7 separate regions of the Homo sapiens genome follow, and all the other regions are linked to region 1. The links are contacts of gene promoters, found by promoter capture Hi-C in blood cells and fetal thymus (Javierre and others, 2016). All regions are on one chromosome and are shown on one strand. Each heading gives the region's core, a stretch centred on a gene start or on the middle of the fragment in contact. The rest is flanking DNA. Distances are from core to core; before and after follow the strand shown.

Region 1 (4,168 bases), core at 982-3,481:
GGTATGTACATGTTATCTTTCTTTCACAGGAAATTTAAGAAAGCAAGCTTCAGTCAATAATCACATGTATGGTATCACCACATAATTTCTTTAGCCTTTCTAAACTTATACAGGAGAATGACTAGTTGAACAAAATTGTATTATTATAAAGTGCTACCTTCAGACTGAAATTGACCACAATCAGAATGAAATTTACCACCTTTACAGGATGAGCCAAACTGACAGCAATGGGGAGGAAATCACGCCACACACCTCATCCATTACTTGAATTGGAAGCAAGCAAAGCCCCAAAAATCAAACGGCATTCCAATCCGTAAAACAACACAAAACCTTTATTTCCCCCAAGAATCTTAATTTTGGCCCTAGAACTACACAAATCTAAAACACACAAAACAAACATGTCACCTCCAAAAAGTTACAATACTAAAATTTTTACCATTAGCGAAATGATTTTTAAGTTTTAAATACATTTAAGAGCTGCCTAGGTAGAAATATTTTTTAAAGTAATACGTGGTTTTGTGGTCATTGATTATTTTAATAAGCCAGTATATCAATTTAATCAGGAACACAATTACTACTTTTTCATGGTTCTCCTTTCACAAATCCGAAAAGTTCTTCCCAGTCCACACGGTTTGGACACATTTTCAAGTGTTAAAACATATTGTTCATACAAAACAAACAAGCTCTTTAGTCACAATTTTAGTTGAAGACTATTTGTTATTTCCTTTAAAATGCACCCAAATTACAACCACTAAGCATTAGAGAACAAAACAGGTATAAGGAAATAAGCGATTTTTTTTTCTTTTTTTTTTTTTTTTTAGATTGAGAACTTATTTGTGAAGAGATGGGAGGCGGGAAAGAATGCAACAATCACCGAAGCGTGCAAGGAAAAATAAAAACAAAGATAACCTGTAAAAATATAACAAATCTTCACTATGCATATTACAACACTTTGGAACCAACAGTACCGATCTCCTGAACAGAACTGCTGTAATAAAGCTTCATATTCACCAGGTCCGTATTAAACATCTCTTCCTTTTGAAGATCCGTCTGCTATGATTAAGATCCAGCAATCCACCCCTTTGGCAGTGATTTTGGATATGAGGACATGAGACTGAAACCCCGAGTTCCTAAGTTGGTTTTACCTGACAAGAGGAACTGACAGTGATGCTGGCGGGAAAACCCTATGAGCGAAGTTTCCTCCATCCTGGCTCCCCTCCCCCTTCTTCCCACCTTCACGAAAATTAATAATCCACAAAAGAACTATGTATCAGCCAAGAGCGCAAAAGTTCATCATTCCACCTGAATGCAGCAAGGCCCACGCGCACCTGCGGGCAGAGAGGAGGCTGCCGGGTCCCCGAGTGGGCAGCAGCTTGGGCCCCAGCGAGCAAGGCGGCCTAGCGCCGCAGGATGGCAAGCGAATAGGCCCGGCGCCCGGTCTCCCGGCCTAGAGCAACTCCCTTCTCCACAATGGTGGGTGGTTTAGCCCCTTCGCGCTACCTGAGACGCAAGAATCGCCTCCTGGTGGGGCAGGGAAGGATGTGGGGGCGCTGAGACAAGCAAACGGGGCCTAGAGACCGCGGCGGGCAACTGCCTAGGAGAAAGAATGGGGGGAGGGGGTTGCAAGAGGGGAGAGGAAAGGGGCTCCGCAGGGATCGGGAGGCCAGCGGACCGGTGGGCTGGAGACTTCGGGGCAGAGAAGCTACCGGCTACGGCCGAAGGGGTGGGGCAAGGCCTGCGTGACGGCCAGGGCCGCGGCTGCGAGAACCCCGAGGTGGGGTGAGGGTCGGATCTCGGCCTCACCTAAAGTCCTTGTCGCTGGATGTCATTTTTTCCAGCAAATTGGAAATGTGGTACGAGGCGCTCGCCATGTTGACGGCCTCGATCCCGCCTGCTGGCGCTGCTGGAGCTGCTGCCCGCTGCCGCTGCCGCCGCCGCCGCCGCCACTGGAGCTCCTCCTCTCGCTCGCGGCGGCTCCCGCTTCCAGGGTCGCAGCGCGACGCCGACGCTGACTAGGGAGGCGCCTCGACGGGCTGCCCCCTCCCTGGCGAGGCGTGGGCCTGTCCCGGGGTAAGCCGAGGCTACAGAGCCAGCCTAACGACGGCGCTGTTCGCGTGAGAACGAGCTCATGGGCGGCGGGGCGTACAGAAGGGCCTCTACGGGGAGCCAGACACTTCCACTCAGGGCCGTCTCGCTCCCACTCGCTCCGCACTCGCTCCCTAGGGCAAAAGGCCAAAGCCCGCCTCCTTCGCTCCGGGGGCGGGGGCGGCAGACGCGGGCGCTACGGAAAGCTAAGGTCAGAGTTCACGGAGGCCTCCCCACGCACGCTGTGGAGAAGAGAGTTAAAAAACAATTCGGTTGGCTGAAGCCTGTGTCAGTTTTCATGTGACCCGCCTTTTGGAGGCATGACAACACAAAAAAAAGGGGCTGTTCTCGCGAGACTCTAAAGCGACGGTTAAGGGACAGGGGACGAGTGGAGCAAGTGGGCCTTAATCTGAAAATAACTTGATTGTTTAATGACATTAAGAGAAAAAGATTACGAGCTTTGAGAAGGAGGAAGCCTGGGAGTAACGACAGTTAAGGAGTTAGCTTGCGGAACCAACATAAGAATTTATAACAGGGAGGTGTCGTTTGGGATCAGACGCGTGGCCTGCATTGCCGTAGCCACCGTGGTGTAATGTTGCCACGTAAAAACCACAAATCCCAGAATTCAGTCGGGTGATACACTGGCTCAGAATGTGATTGGCTGCGGGAACTAGTAGCTTCCTCATTGGCTCCCGTGGAAGGAGTGAATGCTGGGATTTGCAGTCTGATGGGGGAGCCGTGCTGGGTAAAAACCTTAGAATCGTCGCGCACTCCGTTTCTGCCGCGGATTCTTATATTCTCCAATACAGGCTTTTTCTGTTATGCAGTATTTGCAGAGCAGGCTGCTGCAGTTTGGCCAGGCGCATTGCGGATCAGTTGGTGTTCTTGCCAGAGGCCTAGCAGCAGCTTCCTAGCGCTACTACTTGCACCTCCCAAGGCAGCTGAGCCTCCCCACTTCTCTGGCCAGACACACTCCTACCGTGCATCGTAGAACCACCTCTCTGACGCCAGCAGGACCTTAGTAAGAGTAATGGGTATGCGACAGATGGCTGTAGTCAGGCCCTACTGATTTCAAAATAGCTAAAAGACTATCTCTGTAGTTAGCTTTTGTGGCCTTGATGGACCTGCAGCTGTGTATTGCTCCCTCAGACGTACAAATTCGTGGAGATGAGTTATGAAAGTATTTAGTATCCAAGTTTTTCATCTGCTTAATATTTGGGATTTTAAACACAAGTTTTGCCAGCTAGGGGTCAACATCCCTGAAAGTGTTAGGGATGGAGCTAGCTGACAGGCCTTTCTAAAAGAACAGAGAGCCTGGTGAAGAGATGAAAAATCAATCTCACTTGATACTCCTGTTAAAAACAACAACAAACCTTTAAATAGCTCTCTACTAACACATAACTCAAATCCGATCAAATCTACCTGACCTTTACCATTGTTTTCTGTATTCATCAACTATTACTGAGTACTTCAAAGTCAGGCAATAGGAGTTAATAAAACAGATGAAACTTGGTTTAGCCTCATAATATGTGTTTAAATTTCACACATACCTCTGATCTGCTCTCATGTATCCTTCTACTTGAATGTATGTAATATAAAGGCCGGGTGCGGTGGCTCATGCCTGTAACCCCACCACTTTGGGAGGCCGAGGCGGGCAGATCAGGGCATCAGGAGTTCGAGACCAGCCTGGCCAATATGGTGAAACCCCATCTCTACTAAAAATACAAAAATTAGCTGGGCATGGTGGCGCGCCTGTAGTCACAGCTACTCGGGAGGCTGACGTAGAAAAATTGCTTGAACCCAGGAGGCGGAGGTTGCAGTGAGCCGAGATCGTGCCACTGCACTCCAGCCTGGGCGACAGAGTGAGACAACGTCTTAAAATGATAATAATAATATATACGTAATATATGATATTTTTTCTCCCCAGTAATGCCATATTTCATTTTACCAATCTGCCATGATTAATATATCTTTCATCAAACTGTCCTTAGTGCTTCAGCCACAATTAATTGCCTTTTGCTCTGAATAGCCTTTCCACCATATTTAATGTAAAACACACACACACACACACACACACAAAGAA
Region 2 (4,168 bases), core at 587-3,086, 2.9 Mb after region 1:
GCCTGTAATCCCAGCTACTTGGGAGGCTGAGGCAGGAGAATTGCTTGAACCCGGGAGGTGGAGGTTGCAGTGAGCCGAGATTGCGCCACTGCACTCCAGCCTGGGTGATAGAGTGAAACTCCTTCTCAAGAAAAAAAAAAAAAGGTCAGGTTCTATTTATAGGCCACATATTCTAAATATCTTACTGTGTGTACTGTCTGTCTTTAGTTTCAAGTGGGGGGAATGGGAATACTTGGGATCCCTAGAAGCATTGAAGAGTACTTCTAGTTTGGAATCCTTACATGGTTCTCATGGCCTAACCTGCTGGTCTCTTCTCCACTAAAAATGTGACCCAAAAAAGGTAAAATTTGCCTTGGGTCAATCTCAGAAAGTTAGACTTGTATCCAATCAGAAGAATTTAATATTACCTTGTAGATAGGGAGCAGAACGACCACATATGTAACAGGAAATCACATACTTGTTGAACTTATTCTTTCTTTCTTTCTTTATTTTTTAAGACAGAGTCTCACTCTGTTGCCCAGGCTGGAGTGCAGTGGTGCCATCTTGGCTCACTGCAACCTCTGCCTCCCGGGTTCAAGTGATTCTTGTGCCTCAGCCTCCCAGGTAGCTGGGACTACAGGTGCCCGCCACCACGCTGGCTAATTTTTGTATTTTTTGGTAGAGATGGGGTTTCACCATGCTGTCCAGGCTGGTCTCGGACTCCTGACCTCATGTGATCCACCCACCTGGGCCTCCCAGAGTGCCGGGATTACAGGTGTGAGCCACCATGCCCAGTCAACTTGTTCTTTAGACGCTTATATAGTATTTACTCCAGTCCAGGTTCCTGTTCTAGGTACTATTGAAACTTTTTAAATCCTCGTAATAACCCTTTGGGGGTTGGTACTATTATCTCCATTTCATAGATGGGGAAACTGAGGCATAGGTCATTCAGCTACTGAATAGGAGAGCTGGAATTTGAACCCAGGTCATCTGGCTCTACAGTTCTATGCTCATAACTACTGTGCTTCGAATTATTTAAATTGACCATCCCTGTACCTAAGACCACTGTTCTGATGAAATTCAAGGAGACTGCATTTGAGGATTAGTCCAGGTAAGTAATGTCCCATTCCTTTTGATAATTTTGTCAAGAAACATCTATTAAGTGCTTGATTGCAGGAGTTCCTTTGCCAAATGTTTCTTGAGTTTGGATGAACTTACAAGATAAGGAGGGGGTACCTATCTTTGGTGCATTTGGGTTAACCATGTAAAACAGGGGTATCCAGGCTTTTGACTTCCCTGGGCCACATTGGAAGAAGAAGAATTGTCTTGGGCCACATATAAAATATACTAACACTAATGATAGCTGATGAGCTAAAAAAAAAAAAAAAAATCGCAAAAAAATCTCATAATGTTTTAAGACATTTATGAATTTGTGTTGGGCCACATTTAAAGCCTTCCTGGGCTGCAGGTGGCCTATGGGCCATGGATTGATGTAAAGCTTACCAAAAGATAAGGGAATGTGAATGCTTCATATGTCTGTAGTGCTCATAGAGTCTATAATTCATCACATTTGATCCTCACATTTTATAGATGATGAAACTGAGGCTCGGAAAGGTTGTGACTTTCCAAAAGTCTGATAGATAACAGAGTTAGTGCCCTTATCTAGTTCTCCTGACTCCAAATCTAGTGATCTTTCCTATATATTTAAATCCATTTCCTGCAATAGAAATTTTGCTGTTACCTTGGCAACACTGCTGTACAGTGCCTGGAAACCATTGTATTGCCTTCTCTGTGTGCCACGAAGTTAAAAGTTTAACTGAAGTCACCTTGATCACCAATCTCCCAGTCAAATTCCCTTCTTTCTGTGCTTCATTTTATTTATTTATTTATTTTTTAATTTTAGATACAGAGTCTTGCTCTGTTGCCCAGGCCAGAGTGGAGTAGGGCAATCTCAGCTCACTGCAACCTCCACCTCCCGGGTTCAAGCAATTCTCCTGCCTCAGCCTCCCGAGTAGCCAGGATTACAGGCATGTGTTACCACACCCAACTAATTTTTTGTAATTTTAGTAGAGATGGGGTTTCACCATGTTGGCCAGGTTGGTCTCAAACTCCTGACCTCAACTGATCTACCCGCCTCGGCCTCCCAAAGTGCTGGGATTACAGGCATGAGCCACCACACCCAGCCTGTGCTTCATTTTAATGTTTGCTAAGCTTAGTGCACTTGTCACCAAAAGCTTATTCAAGATGGGCTTCTTGGCAGATATATCAAGTATGCTGTCTTTTTTGGTCCTGGTCCAGTCATTCTGTTTCTCTTAGTCCTGGGAAGTAGGTATGAAGTAGGAAGCCTGAGAGACACAAAATAGTAGACTAAGATAAGGCCTTTCCCTTATGTGGGCCTCACTTTCCACCTCTGATATTGTAGTCATTCATCTTTCAACTGCTTTTGTGAGGTGTGGCTATTCAGCAGAGGTGAAGCGCCTTTGCCTTTCTGTTAGTTTGAAGCAACAAACTCTATTTAGAGTGGTTTAGATAATGAGTAGTCTTTATTTTGGAGGAAATAGCCATGCGGCATCTTTTATCAATAAAGGTTGCTACGGATGGTGTAGTTCATTCATTTTTCATCCATTTATGAAGTTAGGAAGGCTCAGATGTGTGATGAGATCCTAAGAAAACTTTAACTACTAGGTCATTTAAGATTTTGCCAGCAGGTGGCACTTCTCTTTACTCACTTGAGTTCCTTAACATGATCTTAGACTTAAGTCTAGCCAGACCCTTACATGGCGGTGGTTCATGCCTGTATTCCCAGCACTTTGGGAGGTCAAGGCAGGCAGATCAGTTGAAGTCAGGAGACAAGCCATGGCCAAGATGGTGAAATCCTGTCTCTACTAAAAATACACACAGAAAAAAAATTAGCCAGGCATGGTGGTGTACACCTGTAGTCCAAGCTACTTGGGAGGCTGTGGCAGGAGAATGGCTTGAACCCAGGAGGCAGAGGCTGCAGTGAGCCGATATCATGCCACTGCACTCCAGCCTGGGTGACAGAGGGAGACTCTGTCTCAAAAAAAAAAAAAAAAAAAAAGTTTAGCCAGACCAAAACATTTCTCTTTCCCTTTGTACTAGTGTAGTCTACAATATCTGTTTATGGATTGTAATATATTTATACCTTCTTTCCACAAGGGATTTGAAGTTGCTTATAACATACAGTATACAATAATAAAATATGTAGAAAGGGAGAATATAAAGAATATATCAAATTTGATTCAGGGTTGCTGGCAGCCACAGCAATGAACGATATGGTTTCATTATCAGGTTTTTGGGTCAATGGGGAGGGGAAGAGAATAACTTTTCTAGGATTCGAAATAAAAAATGGAACTTCTGACTTAGAGCATTTCTGTTGTGCCCTTCTCATTTCTCTAACCTAATTAGTAAGTTATTCTTGGCCTGTAAAAACTAAGGAATACTTACTCCTCTGCAGCCTCAGGGTATGTAATCCGCATTCTTCAGTCTATCAGCTTCAACTTTTCAAGATGCCAGCATCACCCATTCATTCTTCCTGCATAGATTGTCCTGGGCATTGGAAACAAAACCATATGCCTTAGGTTGGTTTGGGTGTGCTCACATCAATTCATGTGAAGAATCCCTTTCTCAAAGGCTGGGCGAGGTGACTTAACGCCTGTAATCCCAGCACTTTGGGAGGCCGAGGCGGGCGGATTACCTGAGGTCGGGAGTTGGAGATCAGCTTGACCAACATGGAGAAACCCCGTTTTTACTAAAATATACAAAATTAGCTGGGCGTGGTGGCGCATGCCTGTAATTCCAGCTACTCAGGAGGCTGAGGTAGGAGAATCGCTTGAACCCGGGAGGGGGAGGTTGCGGTGAGCCGAGATGGCGCCATTGCACTCCAGCCTGGGCAACAAGAGCAAAGCTGCGTCTCAAAAAAAAAAAGAGAAAAGAAAAAAAAAATCCCTTTCTCACTGGTTGGAGAAAGAAGACCTATGTTTACACTCCGACAATATCAGAAAGCTGTGCCAGGCCATGTTATAACCAAAAGCTAAATCTGTGTGATTGGGTTTAATAGGTTTCTAGGGTTGTTAAAAATAAATCGGTAAATTAAACTCTTTCAAGTTTCTAACAGGAAACCAGATTGAAGCTGGCTTCCATTACCAATAAAGTTTGTATTGGATGGTGT
Region 3 (4,168 bases), core at 1,129-3,628, 2.9 Mb after region 1:
GCAGGGGTGAGAGGAAGGAGAGGAGAGATAACGTGGAAGTTTTTAGTTTTTAAACAAAGCCTTTGTATTCTGAATCTATGCATTACTAACAATTAAAAAAACAAAATTCTACAACACTGACAAACAAGTCCTAGCTTTCACCACCTAGTTCTACCCCATACCTTTTTTCTAATGGTTGACTGACTCTATGTGACAAGAGTCAGTTCAACTTTTATTGCCCATGTAAAAAACAGAGAATTACAGATAGACAACTGAGCAATTGGGGTTGGCAGACAGTCATTCTTCTCACCACCAAACTGAATTAAGTTTCCACTACTCCCGAACTGCAACAAAAGGGCTTTCAGAATTCACTTTAAGATTTCTTCCCTTTCATCCTAATAAATTGTTATTCAGATTGGCTAAATGGATACTGAATTATGCCTGGACCTGGATGCTTAAAACACGTATGTGACAGAACCCATTTTTACTGACAAAAAGCAGAGCTTCTGTATTAAAACCACTAATAATGTATTGGTTTTAATTTTCTGAAAAAGAAATCATGGCACATTTAAAAAAATTGGATGCTGGAACTTAAGAGGCAAAGAAAATGCCTCTTTCATCCAAAAATTGGATGCTGGAACTTAAGAAATGAAAGATTTCAAGAGGCACATAAAAATAACAGTAAAGGCCATTTAATAACTAAACATACAGTCAAAGGCTTTTAATTACAAGCATGCAATACCAAGCTAGACTAAAGGTAAAGATCTATGATACTTCAACTATGTTTGAAGGTAGGTAGCATAAAACCCTATGACAAGAAAGATTTGTTTACACACAGAAGACATGGATTTTAAATGTCTTTTGATGTCCTAACTTGTTTGATAGGTATCTTGTAATTAGCCAGATACTTAAATCTCAATTCCTATTATTTTCCTGTATCTGAAGGGCTCGTTACTTATTTAGTAGCAGAGACATGCACATGGTACTGTATTAGAAACTAGTTGGGATTGTTTTTTACTGCTTTAAAAGATTTTTTTCTTAAAATAAGAATAAAAACTGCTATAATTTTTAGTGAGATTGTTAACCTCATTTAGCTCATTTATAAAAAGTATTCTTTGCTATGAAAAGTAAAAAGAAAATGCCTCTTTCCTTTCCACTTACCCTATAGTTCCAAATGCCCACGTCTTTAAAAAAAATTAATTATAGGCTCATTCTTTATATTTTTCTATCATTCAGCTATAGTCATGATTATAGTTGTAGGCTACATTATATTTAATTGTTTACATTTATCCAACTATCCCAGCACTTTATAATGGATTCTTGTCATGTAACCATTTTACTTAAGACATAACCTATCATAACTGCTTATTTATGTCTGCCTAGACCAAATAACAAGAAAGTTAAATATCACTAATGTGGCCGGGCAGGGTGACTCATGCCTATAATCCTAGCATTTTAGGAGACTGAGGTGGGCAGATCGCTTGAGCTCAGGAGTTCGAGACCAGCCTGGGCAAGATGGTGAAACCCTATCTCTAGAAAAAAATTAAAATAAAAAAAAAATCATTAAGGTAAGTGTTAAAACAGCTTGTATAGATCAAGCCAAGGAAAGAGAAAATAAAATACACATGTCTGCTGCTATGGAAAGTCTCTTAAACGAATCCTTTGCATTACAATTTTTAAATAATTAGAAATAATGACTGATGTTGCATAAAGATCTGCCTTGAATCATATGAGATTTTAATACTTTTGTTTGGCCAAGTAAACAGAAAATAAATCACAACACTCACTGTTTCTATATTCAAAATATATTCAAATACCTCAAATTTTTTTGTTTCTGTTCATTTCTACCCAAAGTAAACTTTTGCCAGGTGCATTTTTATTCAAGTCCTCTAATGCCAATCTGTGGTGACATGATTAAAAAATGATTCAGCAGAGTAACTTACCCTTTGTCTAAAGTCTGAATCAGCATTTGGATTTAGCCCTAATAGAGCCTGTTCATCCATCCTCGCTGTTATACTTGTAGTTTTCTGGTTGTAATAGGCGTGCCCTCTGATCCCACAGAAGAATTTATAAACATCTGCCACAAAAAACAAAGTTGAAAGAAAACATTACTTGATAAACAAATAGATGCTTATCCTGAATAACGTAAATGGATAAAATCATGCAAAGAAGCTTAAATGTTTAAAAACTTATTTTGGAACTTATCTAAATTACAACTAAAAGTTAGAGCCTAATTCTCAGAAAAATGGGCTCTGCTAACTACTCCACTAATGTGTAATTCCTAAAAATCTGATTTTTTTTTTTGAGACGGAGTCTCACTCTGTTGCCCAGGCTGGAGTGCAGTGGCACCGTATCAGCTCACTGCAAGCTCCGTGTCCCAGGTTCACGCCATTCTCCTGCCTCACCCTCCCGAGTAGCTGGGACTACAGGCGCCCGCCACCGCGCTGGGCTAATTTTTTGTATTTTTAGTAGAGTCAGGGTTTCACCGTGTTAGCCAGGATGGTCTTGATCTCCTGACCTCGTGATCCGCCCGCCTTGGCCTCCCAAAGTGCTGGGATTACAGGCATGAGCCACCCCACCTGGCCCCTAAAAATCTTAAAGTATGCCATAAAGGTCCTCAAGCTTTCTTAGTCTTCAAGATCTTCTTAATAAGGTATAGAAAGTAATCATTTTCTACTTTAAATAGTAGAAGTACCTAATTTATGCAGTGTTTTACTTATCTCTAGTACTTAAAAATGCAATTGTGCAACTGCAGTTAAGTATAAAAATGACAAATGCAGACTATTACAGTAATTATAATAATTTGTCTACTTCCAGATACAAATATCACAAACCTTCTTTAAAACATTAGAATGGCTGACCTCAGAGTTCAATATCCTTTGGAGTGTTTACTAAGTACTATGACAGAAGTCTAATGAAAGGAACAGGATAATGAAAAACCAGTCATTTAGCTTTTGAGCAATGGACTTAGTTTTGCATTTTACAGATCTCTGCTCTTGCCAGCCAATTCTAAAAATTTCAAAAAAAAAAAAGTTTTTCAATAGTAGATACAAAAACCCACAAACCAGCCAGCTACAGTGGCTCACACCGGTAATCTGAGAACTTTGGGAGGCTGAGGTGCGCAGATCACTTAAGGTCAGGAGTTCAAGCCAGCCTGACCAATACGGTGAAACCCTGTTTCTACTAAAAAGACAAAAATCAGCCAGGCTTGGTGGCACATGCCAGTAATCCCAGCTACTCGGGTGACTGAGGCACAAGAATCGCTTGAACCCAGGAGGCAGAGGTTGTAGTGAGCCAAGATTGCGCCACTGCACTCCAGCCTGGAGAACAGAGTGAGATTCCATCTCAAAAAAAACAAAACACACAAAAAAAAATCCACAAATGACTTAACACTGACTACTCTTATTTAAGGATTTTTTTTAATCTCTGAGAGGTAATCCACTTCTTCACAATATAGGTTCCAACATTCTCAAATAATAAGCTGCAAAAGGCATCCTAGTTTTTGATAGAATGCATATTCATTTGAGCAAACATGGAACAAACTCTAAATGATGTGAAAAATGATATTATTCTCTCAAGACCTATAAGGTAGGGAGACCAAGTCTTACTACTTCCATTAAACGCTGTGGGGGGCCAGGCGTGCTGGCTCATGCCTGTAATCCCAGCACTTTGGGAGGCCGAGGCAGGTGGATCACTTGAGGTCAGGAGTTCAAGACCAGCCTGGCCAACATGGTAAAATCCCCTACTAAAAATACAAAAAAATTAGTGGAGCATGGTGGCACACACCTGTAATCCCAGCTACTTGGGAGGCTGAGGCAGGAGAATCGCTTGAACCCAGGAGGTGGAGGTTGCAGTGAGCTGGGATCACGCCACTGCACTCCAGCCTGGGTGACAGAACGAGACTCTGTCTCAAAAAAAACAAAAAAAGGCTGTGGGGCTTTTTGTTTCAATTACCGTTAACCAAAGACGCCAAAAAACTAATTGGATTGGGGGTAGGGGAGAAAAGCCTTTTGGGAATAGCAGGGGTAGGGGAGAAAGGCCTTTTGGGAATAGCAAAACCAGGCTCAGGTCCAGGTTACAGGATACCTACAATAGGCTTTTCTGTTTTCCTCTGAGCCTGCCTGAATCAAATAACTCAGGATATGGACTGAGAGCTTTGAAGACAGCTCAGCCCTTTCTCTTATGGTTC
Region 4 (4,168 bases), core at 1,155-3,654, 2.8 Mb after region 1:
GGCACAGTGGCTCATGCCTGTAATCCCAGCACTTTGGGAGGTCAAAGTGGCCGGATCACTTGAGGTCTGGAGTTCAAGACCAGCCTAGCCAACATGGTGGAACCCCATCTCTGCCAAAAATACAAAAACTAGCCAGGTGTGGTGGCATGCGCCTGTAGTCCCAGCTACTTGGGAGGTTGAGGTGGAAGAATTGCTTAAACCCGGGAGGCAGAGGTTGCGGTGAGCCAAGATCGCACCACTGCACACTAGCCTGGGCGACAGTGGATGACCCTGTCTCAAAATAAAAATAAAAAACAAAAAAACACCATTGAAAGCTGTGTTCATGGACTGAAGACTTAATATTGTTAAAATGTCTTTGCTACCCAAAGCAATCTGCCGAGAAGTGATGTCTGCTGTTCTCTTACCTCTCTTTGGTGTTTGACTGCCACCACCTATGAAGGGGCCCTTACCCTTCTGCAATACCCAGACCAGGGTGATGTAGTAGTGTTCAGGGACTTGGTGAAGGTCATAAGAGTGAATTATAACACACATGGGGAGCTGGGTGACAGTGGCAGGAAATTTGTATTTTTCAACATACCTCAAATCCAAAAACAAAAAAAACCCTTGGATCGGGCACGGTGGCTCACGCCTGTAATCCCAGCACTTTGGGAAGCCGAGGTGGGTGGATCACGAGGTCAGGAGTTCAAGACTAGCCTGGCCAAGATGGTGAAACCCTGTCTCTACTAAAAATACAAAAATTAGCTAGGTGCAGTGGCGGGTGCCTGTAATCCCAGCTACTCGGGAGGCTGAGGCAGGAGAATCGCTTGAACCCGGGAGGCAGAGGTTGCAATGAGCCGAGATCGCGCCACTGCACTCTAGCCTGGGTGACAGAGCAAGACTAGAGCAAGACTCCATCTCAAACAAACAAAAAACCCTTGGATGCAGATCATGATGTTTAAGAACACAATACCATTACCCTTCCTACAATTCTATTTATATTATGAAGAGCAGGTCCTGGTGGATATAGAAATCAAGATGAATAAGGAGATTATGGAACACATCAAAAAAATCGTGGGGAAGAATGAGGACACAAGAAAGGAGAGCAGGAGAAAAAGCAGCTCTCTCACCCAGCTCATTTTGGCCTTCAAAGTAGTTCTGATGGGAATCTACCTGTGAAGTTAAAGGGCAGGTGCCCTATCCAGGCCTAATGGCATTAGGAGACGACAGGGAAGTACAAAGCAACACTGAAAGCCAGTGCCTAGCAGTAAGGTCCAAGGACACTATGGGCTAGGGTAATTGATATGGGGTTACCTTGGTCACAGAAAAGCCCCTGGTTCTGGACAGGTGTGGTGGCTCACGCCTGTAATCCCAGCACTTTGGGAGGCCGAGGCCAGTGGATAACTTGAGGTCAGGAGTTCAAGACCAGCCTGGCCAATGTGGTGACCCCGTCTCTACTAAAAATACAAAAATTAGGCATGGTGGTGGGCACCTGTAATCCTAACTACTTGGGAGGCTGAGGCCGGAGAACTGCTTGAACCCGGAGAATTGCTTGAACCCGGGAGGTGGAGGTTACAGTGAGCAGAGATTGTGCCATTGCACTCCAGCCTGGGTGACAGAGCAAGACTGTCTCAAAAAGAAAGAAAAAGATGACGACTCTGGAAATGTCTTTGCAATAAAAGGGTCCCCCCCCCACTTTACACATTATGTAAAATGACACAGGGGAAAGAGTATATAAAACTGAGCTGCTAAATGAATATCCCTGTTCCATCAGGTCAACAAAATGCTTCTTAATGGCCAGGCAAGGTGGCTCACGCCCGTAATCCTGGGACTTTAGGAGGCCAAGGTGGGAAGATCACTGAGGTTAGGAGTTTGAGACCAGCCTGGTCTCTACTAAAAAAAAAAGCAAAAACAAAAATTAGCTAGGCATGGTGGTGCCTGCCTGTAATCCCAGCTACTCAGGAAGCTGAGCCACCAGAATCACTTGAACCTGGGAGGCGGAGGTTGCATGCAATGAGCCAAGATCGTGCCTCTGCACTCCAGCCTGGGCACTAAAGCGAGACTCCATCTCAAAAAAAATAAAAATAAATTTAAAAAATTTTAAAAAGCTTCTTAATCATTCCAAAAATAAAAAACAAAGTGACGTACAGATTCAAGGCAATCCGTATAAGAGTTCCAAGAGCATATTTTATAGAAATAGAAAAAACAAAACTAGAATTTACATGGAATCACAAAAGGCCCTGAATAGCCAAAACAATCCAGAGAAAGAGCAAAGCTGGATGTACCACACTTCCAGATTTCAAAATATATTTTAATATTACAGTGTGAAAACAGTATGGTACTAGCAAAAGACAGACATATATCCTAGCTACTTGGGAGGCAGAGGCAGAAGGATTCTTTGAGTCCAGGCGTTTGTAGTTGCTGTGAACTATGATGGTGCCACTGCACTTGAGTCTGGACAACAGAGTGAGACCCTCTCTCTTTTAAGACAGACATATAAACCAATGGAACAAAATAGAATTTGAAAATCAACTCCTGTATACAGTCAACTGATCTTCAACAAGGGTACTAAGAATACACAATGGGGAACAATAATCTCTCCAATAATGGTGCTGGTAAAACTGGATATCTACGTGCAAAAGAAAACGAGACCCTTATCTTACACAAAAATCAACTCAATGTATTAAAGACTTTATATGTAAGTCTCCAAACTGCAAAACTAGAAGAAAACATAGGAGAAAAGCTTCAAGATGCTGGTCTTTGAAATGATTTCATTGATATCACGAAAAGCTACATTAGTGGGGCTACATTGAATTAAGAAGCTTCTGCACCATAAAGTAAGCAATCAACAGAGCAGAAAGGCAACCTCTGGAATAGCTAAAGAATGGGAGAAAATATTTGCAAACCATTTATCTGATAAGGGGTTAATTTCTAACATATAAAAAAACTCCTCTAATTCAATAGCAAAAAACTTAATAACTTGATTAGAAAATGGGGTAAAGACTTGAATAGACTTCTCCAAATACAAATGGTTAACAGGTGTATGAAAAAACAAACATCACTAATCATAAGGGAAATGCAAATCAAAACCACAATGAGATATCACCTCACACCTGTTAGAATGGCTATTACAAAAAAATGAAAGACAGCAAGTGTTGGTGACATTGTGGAAAAACTGGAACCCTGCTACACAACTGATGGAAATGCAAAATGGTGTATAGCCACTATAGAAAATAGTAAGATGTTTCTTCAAAAAATTAAAAATAGGACTACCATATAATCCAGCAATCCCACTTCTGGGTATTTATCTAAAAGAATTGGAATCAGCATCTCAAAGACATATTAGCATTCCCATGTTAACTGTAGCACTTACAATGTGAAAATAGCCCCAATGAATCTATCAGTGGATTAATGCATAAAGAAAATGTGATATATACATACAGTGGCATGTTATTCAGCCTTAAAAAATTGCGAAATCCTGCCATATGTAACAACATGGATGAACCTAAAGGACATTGTGTGAAACAGCCAGTCACAAAAAGAGAGATAACTGCATGATTCCACTTATATTAGGTATCTAAAGTAGTCAAATTCACAGAATCAGAGAGTAGAATGGTAGTTTCTAGGAGATGGGGGCTGTGGGAAATGGGAATTGCTAATCAGTGGGTATAAAGTCTTAGTTATGCAAGATGAATATGTTCTGGAGATCCACCTATATTTTATAGGCACATCACTGTCCCTATAATTAATAATACTGTGTTGTGCACGTAAAAATTGTTAAGATGGTATATATCTCATGTAAGTGTTCTTACAATAAAATAAAAACACTATTGATGAAGAAACAAATTTTGGAATCTACATAAGAGATTGTAATTCTAGTTTTAATCAAGTTTGATACTTCATTAACTCCATGTACTACTGGACAAGAAATCTGGAAAATTATATGCCAAGAAACAATATTATACAAATGACTTCTTAAAAGTATAAGGTAACTTTCCAGACACTTTCCTTAAAATAGTTTCAGATTTACAGATTAAGCATTGATAAGCTTGGTGTACACACAATGAACTACCTGGTACAAAGCTTCAGAACTCTGCTGTGGTCCCCTTCAGCAGTCTGGAAAAGCCTATTAGGCTCCTTTAGAATGTTTTTTTAAAAAAATGCATAAAACATAATACATGGGATTACGATA
Region 5 (4,168 bases), core at 739-3,238, 2.8 Mb after region 1:
ATCTTGGGAAAAAAAATTCCCTAAAAGTAAACTGAACTCAATATGTAAAACAGCAAAAAAGAAACAGAAAAACAGCAAAGTGTCAAACTTGTTTCTGTAAAAATGTATTCTCATATGCTTGGCACTATTCCAAAAAGCCCATTTTTTCTTCTTTTTTCTTAAGGGCAAAGTTGTCTACTTTGCTGAAATTAAGCTATTTTGTCTAACTGACAGTGTCACTGAGTGATAACTTTATACATTTGCTTGAGGGCTGATAGATGAATGTTCAAATTCAAAATATGTAAAAGGTTTAGGGGTATCAATGTATAATTATTAAAACTCAGGACTACCAATACACTTAGGAAGACATCATATCTATAATTTCTATTTGATTAAACAGGCTGTAGCATACTAGTAATATTGTTTCTCTCTCATTGTATCCTCACCTAAATAATCACTCTGCTTCCAGTGACAAGTTCAAGAATTCCCACCAACCTTTTACCTTATCACTTGACTTTTTCCCATTCCTCAAATATTTGATTCATTTCTCTTAAGATGTTATTTCCTTTGATTGCAGTATTTTTTTTAAAAAATAGGTTCACTGAGATATAATTCAAACATAACATTCATCTTTTTAAAGTGTACAATTCAGTCATTTTTAGTATGGTCACAGAGTTATACAACCATCACCACTGATTTCAGAATACTTTTGTCACACCAAAAAGACAACTCATACCCAACTCCATCTTCTCCTGATCCCCCAGAAACCACTAATCTGTTTTCTGTCTCTATGGATTTGCCTATTCTTGACATTTCATATAAATGGAATCATATAATATTGCAGCCTTTGTGTCTGGCTTCTTTCACTTAGCATAATGTTTTCAAGTTCATCCATGTTGTAGCATATATAACTACTTCATATCTTTTTGTAAACAAACAATATTCCATTGTATAGACACACCACATTTTTGTTTATCTGTTCATCAGTTGATGGACATTTGGGCTGTTTTCATCTTTTTTTTTTTTTGCTATTATGAATAATGCTGCTAAGTACACTGGAGTACAAGTTTTTATATGGATATGTTAATTCTTTGGGGTATATACGTAGCAGTGGAACTGCTGGGTCATTTGGTCAAAAGTTAAATAATTCTATATTTAACTTTTTGAGGAACTCTAGACTGTTTTCTAGAATGGCTGTATCATTTTATAATCCTACCAGCAATGTATCAGGGTTCCAATTCTCCATATTCTTGCCAACACTTGTTTTTTTTTTTTTTTTTTTTTTGAGATAGTCTTGCTTTGTTGCCCAGGCTGAAGTGCAGTGGCACAATCAAGGCTCACAGCAGCCTCAATCTCCTGGGCTCAAGTGATCCTCCCACCACAGCCTCCTGAGTAGCTGTCTACAAGTGCATGCCACCATGCTTGGCTATTTTTTATTTTATTTTTTGTAGAGACAGGGGCTCACTGTGTTGCTCAGGCTGATCTTGAACTCCTGGACTCAAGCAATCTGCCGGCCTCCACTTCCTAAAGTGCTGGGATTACAGGCGTGAGCCACCATGGTTGGCCCTGTTTGTCTTTTTGATATTAGTCATTTTCATTGGTATAAAGTGGTATTTCATTGTGGTTTTGATGAGCATTTCCCTAATAACCAATGATGTCGGTTATTAATTAATTAATGTTGAGCTTTTTTTTATGTACTTGTTAGCCACTTGTGTATCTTCTTTGGAGAAATGTCTATGCGAATCCTTTGCCCATTTTTAAATTGGGTTATTTGGCTTTTTATTGTTGAGTTGTCTGGATAAAAATCCCTTGTCAGGTGTATGATTTACAAACATTTTTTTCTCATTCTATGGGCTGTCTTTTCACTTACCTGATGTCCTCTGAGGCCCAAAAATGTTTAATGCTGATGAAATCCAATTTATGTATTTCTGGTATTTGTGCTTTTGGTGTCATATCTAATGAAGCATTGCATAAAGGTCTTCAGTTTTGAATGGAAGATATTTTTTAAAAATTCTGTTATTAAATTTTATATACAAATGATATCATATAAATAAACAAACATACCCACATCTCGCAAAACAATTAAGAATTCAGATTCTGGTAGTCCATAGGCATTAGAAGGTTCTTCTAAAACAGTGTATAAACTCCCACATGGACAAAATTCCATAATAAGTACTTTATGTCTTGTTGTTGTCTGAAAAAAAAAATCATTGATTGGGAATCAACATAAAAAATAAATTTTGATTATATGCCAGTACTTATCTGATTTCATTTAAATGTAGGATTTGCTACAATGATGAAGGCACTTTGCTTCACCTGAGATTCAGTATCTGTTGAACATACACATATAAGAATTAATATCTTCCGGCCGGGTGTGGTGGCTCACGCCTGTAATCCCAGCACTTTGGGAGGCTGAGGTGGGCGGATCACGAGGTCAAGAGATTGAGACTATCCTGGCCAACATGCTGAAACCCGGTCTCTACTAAAAATACAAAAATTAGCTGAGTGTGGTGGCACATGCCTCTAGTCCCAGCTACTCAGGAGACTGAGGCAGGAGAATCACTTGAACCTGGGAGGCGGAAGTTGCAGTGAGCCGAGATTGCACTACTGCAGTCCAGCCTGGTGACAGAGCGAGACTCCATCTCAAAAAAAAAAAACAAAAAAAAAAAACTAACATTTTCCAAATTCCTATTAGGTGAAGAAGTTGGATTTGTTTTTGAAGACAAACCACAGTAAAAAGTAGCTAAATCTGAACTACAAAATCATTGGTACAATGTTACAATGGTTTTGTTAAAATCATCTTAAATTCCTTTCTTTTTTTTTTTTTTTGAGACAGAGTCTTGCTCTGTCACCCAGACTGGAGTGCAATGGTACGATCTTGGCTCACTGCAACCTCCACCTCCAAGGTTCAAGTGATTCTCCTGCCTCAGCTCCCAAGTAGCTGGGATTACGGGCATGCTCCACCATGCCTGGCTAATTTTTCTATTATTTTGTAGAGACGGGGTCTCACTATGTTGCCCAGGCTAGTCTCGAATTTCTGGGCTCAAGCAATCTGCCTGCCTCAACCTCCCAAAGTGCTGGGATTGCAAGCATGAGCTACCACACCCAGTCACTTGAATTTCTTTCTTTCCTTCTTTTTTTTTTTTTTGAGACAAAGTCTCGCTTTGTCACCCAGGCTGGAGCGCAGTGGCGCGATCTCGGCTCACTGGAAGCTCTGCCTCCCAGGGTTCACGCCACTCTCCATTCTCCTGCCTCAGCCTCCTGAATAGATGGGACTACAGACGAGTGCCACCACACCCGGCTAATTTTTTTGTATTTTTAGTAGAGACGGGGTTTCACCATGTTAGCCAGGATGGTCTCGATCTCCTGACCTCGTGATCCGCCCACCTCGGCCTCCCAAAGTGCTGGGATTACAGGCGTGAGTCACCACACCAGTGCTGAATTTCTTATGTATAACAGTACATTTAGGACAACAGCTCTTCTAACCTCTTAAAATGAAATTTTTCTTATGATGACTACTGTTACTTCAAGGAATGGAGTCCTATCCTTAAAAATAAATGGGTAGCAGAACAGCTGAGTGGTCCCTCTTGCAGCAAAGCTCCAGTCTGCTCATTTGCATCTGAGATGCTGATTTGTTTTAAACCTTAATTTTAATGTACCATTGATTATAATGCTTCATCAATTTAATAACAGCATTACGGGGAAAAAGAAATACCATCAAATTATATATACACAATGATTATAAGATGCATGACAATTTCAGAATCTGAAAATCTGAATGAGTCTTAAAATCTACTATTCATCTCCAACTTTTTATCCTTTGTTTCTTTTCTAATTTTTTTCTACATATCTCCAAAACACTTTTATAAAATATTTTAAATTACTCTCTGGCAGTCATTTCAAAAAAGAGAGAGAAATAATCATAGTAGAAAAAAAAAACTGTTGCTTTTAAATGATAATGTATGTTGATTGTTGAAAATTTGGGAAGTATACATAATTCCATTACCTGGAGATAATGAATTAATATTTTGGCGTATTTTCTTTCAGTCTTTTTTCTATGGATGAAATAATGTCATAGATACATAATGCTGTTTGCATATTACACTGTATATGTTAAGATCATACTACATATATATTTTTAATCCTGATTCTTCTCACATAACATCATATATAAGGTGTTCCAAGAAGA
Region 6 (4,168 bases), core at 835-3,334, 2.6 Mb after region 1:
TCTACAAAAAAATTAAAAAATTTGCTGGGCATGGTGGCATGCCCCTCTAGTCCCAGCTACTTGGGAGGCTGAGGTGGGATGATTGCTTGAGCCTAGAAACTAGAGGCTTCAGTGAGCTATGATCATGCTACTGTGTAACAGAGCAAGACCTACCTCGAAAAAACAAAATTCAGCACCTTCCACAGTTCCGAAGGCAGTCTGTGAAGAAATAGTGTGGTAACCTCATTTTGTCTTGAAATATCTTCCGAAAGATCCTAAACGTTGCCTTTTCCTAACTACCACCTTCATAACAAATAACTTTCCATGATAAAGGGGACATTATTTCTGGCCTCCCCAACACCACTACACCCTTAAAGCCCACTTCCTTCCCCAGCACACACAAACTCCTATACAAACTGTATCTAGATAAAGGCGATAGAACTGGAAGTTTTCTGATGGCTGGGCACAGTGGCTCACCTCTGTAATCGCAGCACTTTGGGAGGCCGAGGCGGGTGGATCACCTGAAGTTAGCAGTTCAAGACCAGCCTGGCCAACATGGTGAAACCCTGTCTCTACTAAAAATACAAAAATTAGCTGGGCGTGGTGGTGGGTGCCTGTAATCCCAGCTACTTGGGAGGTTGAGTCAGGAGAATCGCTTGAACTTGGGAGGCGCAGGCTGCAGTGAGCCAAGACCGAGCCACTGCACTCCAGCCTGGGCGCAAGAGTGAGACTCTGTCTCAGAAAAAAAAAAAAAAAGAACTGGAAGTTTTCTGAAAGCTGGTCTTTTTGTTCCTCAGTTTCTATGGTTGGCCTTACCTGCTCAGTCAAGCATCTTTTATTAATAAGGCCTCGAAATACTCAATCTGACCTAAACAAAATTGACTATGAATGTTTTCCTTGCAAAGATCACATATGCAAGAAAAATGTTTGAAATGTTCACCATCTTTAAAAGAATCTGAAGACACCATTTATAGTTCTGAGTAAAAGGTTTGAATTTAAGCTGTTGCCTCCCTGCCTGCAACAGCAGTAATTCAAGAATTCTAAGTTTTGGCAAGGCACTAAAGTTTGCTGCTTCAGAATTTTTAGAATTTAAACAAATTTTATTGCACCTGTAAATGGAAAAACCCTGTAGAGCAGAGCCTCCCTAGAAAGCCACTTCAGAGACAGGAACCACAGAGGGCTTAATGAATCCCACGTGTCCACAAAGCGTGGCTCAACAGCCGGCAGTACATATGCCAGCAAACACAAACCAGATAGATGCCCTTAATGACCCAGGCCCATTGTAATCGGAACTCCTCGTTTAGAAAGAGAAAAAAATGAACTCTCCTGATTGAAATAACTCCCTCCCCAAAACAAAGTCAAATCCCAATTTCTTTTGAGGTTTACAAAGAGCCCTGATGTTTTGTTGTTTGTGCGTAAATAATACTTAAAGGTGCTCACATTTCTCAGAAACAAGAAGAAGAGAGGAGCTTTCAGAGTTCACTTGATGCCAAATGCAGCCTCAGCCAGACACGTGAGAACCACAATCATCCTTTGGAAACACTATTTAAGATCAAAGGGGTCTATCCTGTACCCTGCTATTCTCATCTCCTGGAATAGGGAAAGACTTGTCAAAAAACAAAACAAAATGAAACCAAAACCAACAGGCAAAAAAACCCCAAAAGACAAAAAACAAAAACCCAAACCCAGATCCAAGCCTGAAGATGGAATAAATGATTTAGCTTCAGAGTTGTTGGTATATAACCCAGCTAGTCCCCACTCCCTCCTATTCCAGCCTTCACCACACCTGCCCCCCCACCTTTATCCTTATATAAAACTTCTTTCTTGAACATTCAATTAAGCAAGTAGTGATTCACACCACACAAGCATATGCTTTAGACTTTGAATACTTACCTCCTAGTTTCTCTCTGCAGAGGATGAGCCTTGTTTGGGGGAATGGTTCCATGAGTCAAACCTTTGCACAAGTTTTGTGGCTCCTATAGCACTCTGTAGTACTGAAGCTGTTCTTCTGGTGGTTCCAGGAGAATTGTCTTACCAACTACAGTGAGACCACTAAGTTTGGTTACCTGCCGTGTTATTTCCCCCATGCAACAGAACCTCTAAATGAAAATACAGGTCTGGGCTGGGCATGGTGGTTGTAATCCCAGCCCTTTAGGAGGCCAAAGCAGGAGGATCACTTAAGCCCAGGAGTTTGAGACCAGCGTGGGTAATATAGCCTGACTCCATCTTTACAAAAATGAAAAAAAATTAGCTGGATGTGGTGGCAGGCACCTGTTGTCCCAGCTACTTGAGAGGCTGAGATGGGAGGATCTCTTAAGCCCAGGAGGTTAAGGCTGCAGTGAGCCGTAATCACGCCACTACATTCCAGCCTGGATGACAAGGTGAAACCCCATCCGAAAAAATAAAAAGAAAGCACAGGTCAGCATTTCATTCTATGTGACTTAGTATAATCACCTGAATGAAATGATAAATGAACCAAAATGGATGAGAACACACTGATATCAACAAACCCCAATGGCACCAAAACAGTTACGCTTCTGGGCAAACTGTCCATTACGGCAATTTAACAGACTTTTGCTCCTTTACTCAATAGGCAATTTAACTGAGAAACTAGAGAGCACTTACAGGAAAAGATGGTAGAGAAACGGGGCAGTGTCCGGCTCTGCCACTCACTCACACAGTGGCCTTGAGCAAGCTGCTAAACCTCAACATGTCCATTTCCACATTTGTGAAAAAAGGGATATGACGAAATAGTGTGATAACGTCACAGGAGAGTCAATGAGTTGATACATATTAAGCATTTCAGAAGAATGCCTAGCACATGGTAAGCACTTTGTTGGCATTGGCTACTATAGTGTAGACCTTCACCACCACCCTTTTTTTTTTTTTTTTTTTTTTTGAGATAGAGTCTTGCTCTGTTGCCCAGGCTGGAGTACAGTGGCGCAATCATGGCTCACTGCAGTACTCACGGCTCACTGGAGTACAGTGGCGCAATCACGGGGCTTGAACCCCGCCTCCCGGGTTCAAGCAATTCTCCTGCCTCAGCCTCTTGAGTAGCTGAGACAGCAGTCGTGTGCCACCACGCCTGGCTAATTTTTATATTTTTAGCAGAGAAGAGGTTTTGCCATGTTGGCCAACCTGGTCTTGAACTCCTGGCCTCAAGAGATCAGCCCGCCTTGGCCTCCCAGAGTGCTGGGATTACAGGCATGAGCCACTGTGCCTGGCCCCTTTTCTTTTTTTTTTTTTTTGAGACGGAGTTTCACTTTGTCGCCCAGGCTAAGTGCAATGGGGCGATCTCGGCTCACTGCAACCTCCGCCTCCCTGGCTCAAGCAATTCTCCTGCCTCAGCCTCCTGAGTAGCTGGGATTACAGGTGTGCGCCACCACGCCCAGCTAATTTTTGTATTTTTAGTAGAAACGGGGTTTCACCATGTTTGGTCAGGCTGGTCTCAAACTCCTGACCTCATGATCTGCCCACCTCGGCCTCCCAAAATGCTGGGATTACAGGCATGAGCCACCGCGCCCAGCCCCCTTCTTTCAATAAAACAAAATACCTAATTAGCGTTATCTGACAGTGTCTCCGAATTTGTCACCAACTGATAACTGTTGTTTCAATAAATATTCATGTGAGCCAGGCACGGTGGCTCACACCTGTAATCCCAGCACTCTGGGAGGCCAAGGCCGGCAGATTACCTGAGGTCAGGAGTTTGAGACCACCTTGGCCAACAGGGTGAAACCCCGTCTTTACTAAAAATACAAAAATTAGCCAGGTGTGGTGGCACACGCCTGTAATCCCATCTACTCCAGAGGCTGAGGCAGGACAATTGCTTGAACCTAGGAGGTAGAGGTTGCAGTGAGCCCAGATCGTGCCACTGCACTCCAGCCTGGGAGACAGAGTGAAACTCTATCTCAAAAAAAAAGGTTTTTTTTTAGTAATAAAAATTGACTTAAAAAAAAAAGTCCTACCTGTAATCCCAGCACTTTGGGAGGCTGAGGTGTGTTGGTCACTTGAGGTCAGGAGTTTGAGACCAGCCTAGCCAACGTGGAGAAACCCCGTCGCTACTAAAAATACAAAAAAAAAAATTAGTCGGGTATGGTGGCAGGCACCTGTAATCCCAGCTACTAGGGAGGCTGAGGCAGGAGAATCGCTTGAACCTGGGAGGTGGAGGTTACAGTGAGCCAAGATCATG
Region 7 (4,168 bases), core at 420-2,919, 2.5 Mb after region 1:
CAACTTTGATCTCTGTCCACCCAAAGTTAGCAAGTCAACTTTGTCAAGCATGAGATCCTATTTCCTGCTCTCTGGTTCAGAATGTCCCTCCACCAGGCAAAAAGTTGGAGCAATTGTTTGTTTCTCTTTACATGTGGATCACAGTCCTTCACTATTGTCACTTGTATAAAGGCATCTATATTGCCCTGTTTTCTAGTTGTTTTTAGCAAGAGAATTAGTCTGGCACTGTTACTCCATCGTGGCCAGAGATGGAAGTTTTGAGGTTATTAAACGTTAAGTGAAAGTTACACTTCAGAGGTCATGATGAAAAGTACTATTGTTCCTATAATGAAAATTCCACAGGAATTTTTCAACTAATAGCTGAATTGGATGCATTTTTGCTTAAGCTCTTGGAAAAACATGTCAAAATGAAAACACAACTTATTTTACTAAAACAATTTATGGAAAAAATTGAAATAATGAAAAAAATGTTTAAAAAGTGGTAAGTCAAACACATAACCAAACACCAAATACTATTATGTATTCTATTCTGGATATGACAACCACTGATGAGTTGGCAATTATTGGGCACTACTTTCTAACAGGAAAACCTATGAGCAATTTTTAAATATTTTTAGCCAACTGAAAACATCTGAGACATTATTCAACAAAGTAAAACAAGATTGTTATTTTAACCTGTGGTTAAACAGCATTTATAATCAGTCATCTGTTAACACAGCTATTATAATGATTAGGAAAAAGGGCTGCATGCTCTTTAAAAAACAGCTTGGCTAGGCTGGGCATGGTGGCTCACGCCTGTAATCCCAGCACCTTGGGAGGCCAAGGTGGGTGGATCACCTGAGGTCAGGAGTTCAAGACCAGCCTGAGGTCAGGAGTTCGAGACCAGACCAATATGGTGAAACACTGTCTCTACTAAAAATACAAAAATTAGCTGGATGTGGTGGTGTACACCTGTAATCCCAGCTACTTGGGAGGCTGAGGCAGGAGAATCGCTTGAACCTGAGAGGTGGAGGTTGTAGTGAGCCGAGATCATGCCACTGCACTCTAGCCTGGTGACAGAGCAAGACTCTGTCTCAAAAAAAAAAAAAAAAATTAATAGGATACAAAACCAAAGTGATAAAGATGAATGAGAAAGTAAAGAGAAATTATCCTGACATTAAGAAGTAAAGAGTAACCAAAAAAAGTTTAAATCATAAGAAAAACAGTAATTCATTAAGAGGAAGAGAATAATCATTTCACACTCTATACGTATATGAAAACATCATGTTGTACACCTTAAATACACATAATTTTGTTGTCAATTATATCTCAATAAAGCTGGAAAGAGGAAGAGATAAACTGCAAATGAAAGTAATAAATAGGCTATTAAATTGACAACTTGTGAATTATATAAACTCATTGAAAAATATTCAAATTTCTTTCGATTTGATCTCACACTAGCATTGAGGAAGATAACATAAAACTCACGCCTATAATCCCAGCACTTTGGGAGGCTGAGGCGGGTAGATCACCTGAAGTCAGGAGTTCGAGACCAGCCTGGCCAACATGGCGAAACCCCATCTCTACTAAAAATACAAAAATTAGCCGGGCATAGTGACGCATGCCTGTAATCCCAGCTACTCAGGAGGCTGAGGCAGGAGAATTGCTTGAACCTGGGACGTGGAGGTTGCAGTGAGCCAAGAGCGCAGACAGATCAAGACTCCATCTCAAAAAATAAAATAATACAAAATAAAATGCAGAATGTCACGAAATGCCTATGTTAAGAGGATATTTGATAGAGTTTTCTGAAATTTGACAAAAATACTAAACATATATATAAAACCAATAATGAACTGAGGTGAAAAATAATTTTTCTGAATTATCACCAATAAAAGGCAAATACTGATCAAACACACTAGAGAAAAAACTAAATTATCTTTCTATTTTCTTTAGAAAATATTATAAACTAACATCATATGAAGAGATGATTAAAGAGCACATAGCCATATAATGTAAGGGGAAAAAAGTATGAAGAAGTATGCCTGGCAGTTACTTAATAAAAATATGTTACGTTAAATTTTTGCATTATTTGTAATATTTTTCAACTTTTAAAAATTTATAACGTTATATTTTGTTTTAGTCTAAATACATATTCAGTTGTGTACCTACTTTTGTATCTAAAATTGTTATTCTTTTTCTTAAGGAGCCTCCACTCGCCAAATGCACATAAACTTCAGGCCCCACAAAATTTGAATCTGTCCCTGTTATCCACTTTTCTCTCTACCTAATTGGTCTACCCTCACCCATGCTTGTCCTCTTCCAATCTGTTCTTCATGCCACAGTCTAAAGGATCTTCTAAAAGTTCATGTATGATTATATTTATCTTACATTCTTTCAGTAATTTCCAATTAGCCTTACTATAAAAACCCAAGTCCTTAAAATAGGATCTGGGTCCTCACCACCTCTCTCCCTCTGCTCTAACCACACTGGCTTCTTTTAGTTATTGCAATGCACCAGCTCAGAACCTTTGCATATGCTGTACTCTGTGCTTAGGAGACATTCCACCACCCCAATACTCCATTAACAAATTATCTCCTACTCAAACTTCAGATTTCACTCAAAGATCACTTCCTCAGGGCACCTTAGACTAAATCAGCCTCCCACCACCTTAAATGCTCATTGCACCCTTTACTTTTCCTTCATAGCATGTCTATTTGTAATCATATACAAGATACAAGATTAGATTGTCCATCTCTCTGCCATTAGACTGCAAATTCCATGAACGAGGGACAATGTCTCTTCAGCACTAGTGTAGCAGTGTTACCGGAAAGGGGTCCTGATCCAGACATCAAGAAAGGGTTCTTGGATCTCGAGCAAGGAAGAATTCAGGACAAGACCATAGAGTAAAGTGAAAGAAAGTTTATTAAGAAAGTAGAGGAATAAAAGAATGGCTACTCCATAGGCAGAGCAGCCCGAGGGCTACTCGTTGCCCATTTTTATGGTTATTTCTTGATGATATGCTAAACAAGGGATGGATTATTCATGCCTCCCCTTTTTAGACCAGAGAGGGTACCTTCCTGACATTCCCATGGCGTTTGTAAACTGTCATGGCGCTGGGTGGGAATTTAGCAGTGAGGACGACCAGAGGTCACTTTCATCACCATCTTGGTTTTGGTGGGTTTTAGTCGGCTTCTTTACTGCTACCTGTTTCATCAGTAAGGTCTTTATGACATGCATCTTGTATCTTGTATCTTTATGACCTCCTATCTCATCCTGTGACTTAGAATGCATAACCATCTGGGAATGCAGCATAGCAGGCCTCAGGCTTATTTTACTCAGCCCCTTTTCAAGATGGAGTTGCTCTGGTTCAATCGCCTCTGACAGCAGCATCCTGAACAAAGTGGGCAACTAATTACACAATTTCTGGCCTCAAATAGTTTATAATCTAACCTTGAAAAAAATAGAAAAGAAACAATTTTACAATTTGGGGCTTCGATACAGATGAAATAGGTTATTTTTTTGTGCAAGAAAGTCTTCCTGGAAGTCTTGAAACCTGAATACAGAAGGATTAGTTATTCTAACCAGCTTGAAAAATTGGCCTAGGCCAAGGCTGTAACCAAGTATTCTGGTTGTCTAGGAACTGCTCTGACCACACTTCCGGCATAATTGTTTCTTGCAGAAAAACTACTTCAGTTTTTTTAAAGCTTCTTTTGCCTTCTGTAGGCTTACTTAAAAAAAAAAAGTATTAAGATCCTTTTGTGGTTCATAAGCCTGATGATTGGGTTTTCATGCTATTGTGTGAGTTACCACCCCTACCTCAAACCTTGTTAGGACTCCGCGCATTACCCCTCTGTGTGAAAAAAACAAAGTAATAAAGGTAATTTTTTTTTTTTTGCATAAGCCCTATCCTTGTACACATCAGGTTTCAACGTGTTTCCATCATTATTTTTACCTTATAGTATAGTGTTTTCACGAGTTTTTTTTTTTAATACTTTAAGTTCTGGAATAGTTTTCACGAGTTTTAAGAGACTCTTCTTGGCAAACAGTTCAACTCAGAGAAAATACTTTTACCAGCAAGGAGGTATACCTTGTTATATCGGTCTGGGGATGTGACTTGACAGTTCACCTTGCCAGGAATATCTCTGTGATTTTTTGTTTGTTTGTTTGTTTTGAGACAAGAGTCTCGCTC

Evidence for each region. Contacts are between HindIII fragments. The CHiCAGO score rates a contact against its expected background, and 5 or more counts as called.
Region 2: a contact is called between a fragment that was not itself captured here and the fragment with the promoter of CAND1 in region 1, in 1 of 17 cell types (neutrophils). The highest score is 8.5, in neutrophils.
Region 3: a fragment that was not itself captured here is called in contact with the fragment with the promoter of CAND1 in region 1 in 1 of 17 cell types (neutrophils); the score reaches 5.2 in neutrophils.
Region 4: a fragment that was not itself captured here is called in contact with the fragment with the promoter of CAND1 in region 1 in 1 of 17 cell types (neutrophils); the score reaches 7.9 in neutrophils.
Region 5: a fragment that was not itself captured here is called in contact with the fragment with the promoter of CAND1 in region 1 in 1 of 17 cell types (neutrophils); the score reaches 9.1 in neutrophils.
Region 6: a contact is called between a fragment that was not itself captured here and the fragment with the promoter of CAND1 in region 1, in 1 of 17 cell types (neutrophils). The highest score is 6.3, in neutrophils.
Region 7: a contact is called between a fragment that was not itself captured here and the fragment with the promoter of CAND1 in region 1, in 1 of 17 cell types (neutrophils). The highest score is 7.6, in neutrophils.

What each region holds. Positions count from the first base shown.
Region 1 is chr12:67,267,421-67,271,588 of GRCh38, reverse strand. CAND1 (cullin associated and neddylation dissociated 1) reads right to left here and starts at 2,231. Exons shown (of 15, transcript NM_018448.5): 1 at 1,804-2,231. The coding sequence starts at 1,871. RefSeq lists enhancers at 1,465-2,116, 2,396-2,655, 2,796-3,095. The HindIII fragment of the contact is 8,089 bases long and covers 1,002-4,168 here.
Region 2 is chr12:64,390,955-64,395,122 of GRCh38, reverse strand. No RefSeq gene overlaps it. Among named protein-coding and RNA genes, the nearest start is that of C12orf56, 2.3 kb to the right of the region's middle. The HindIII fragment of the contact is 713 bases long and covers 1,480-2,192 here.
Region 3 is chr12:64,407,850-64,412,017 of GRCh38, reverse strand. It overlaps XPOT (exportin for tRNA), which reads right to left. Exons shown (of 25, transcript NM_007235.6): 2 at 1,923-2,056. The coding sequence starts at 1,982. Among named protein-coding and RNA genes, the nearest start is that of XPOT, 5.5 kb to the right of the region's middle. The HindIII fragment of the contact is 450 bases long and covers 2,154-2,603 here.
Region 4 is chr12:64,439,582-64,443,749 of GRCh38, reverse strand. The region is part of intron 23 of XPOT (exportin for tRNA); the gene reads right to left. It also overlaps the pseudogene LOC100420899. Among named protein-coding and RNA genes, the nearest start is that of TBK1, 10 kb to the left of the region's middle. The HindIII fragment of the contact is 635 bases long and covers 2,087-2,721 here.
Region 5 is chr12:64,462,339-64,466,506 of GRCh38, reverse strand. It overlaps TBK1 (TANK binding kinase 1), which reads right to left. Exons shown (of 21, transcript NM_013254.4): 4 at 2,044-2,173. Among named protein-coding and RNA genes, the nearest start is that of TBK1, 12 kb to the right of the region's middle. The HindIII fragment of the contact is 5,197 bases long and covers 1-4,168 here.
Region 6 is chr12:64,698,487-64,702,654 of GRCh38, reverse strand. No RefSeq gene overlaps it. Among named protein-coding and RNA genes, the nearest start is that of GNS, 59 kb to the left of the region's middle. The HindIII fragment of the contact is 6,460 bases long and covers 1-4,168 here.
Region 7 is chr12:64,760,535-64,764,702 of GRCh38, reverse strand. LOC124903113 (small nucleolar RNA U13) reads left to right here and starts at 3,730; the gene lies at 3,730-3,835. It also overlaps a transcript of TBC1D30 not described here. The HindIII fragment of the contact is 4,032 bases long and covers 1-3,685 here.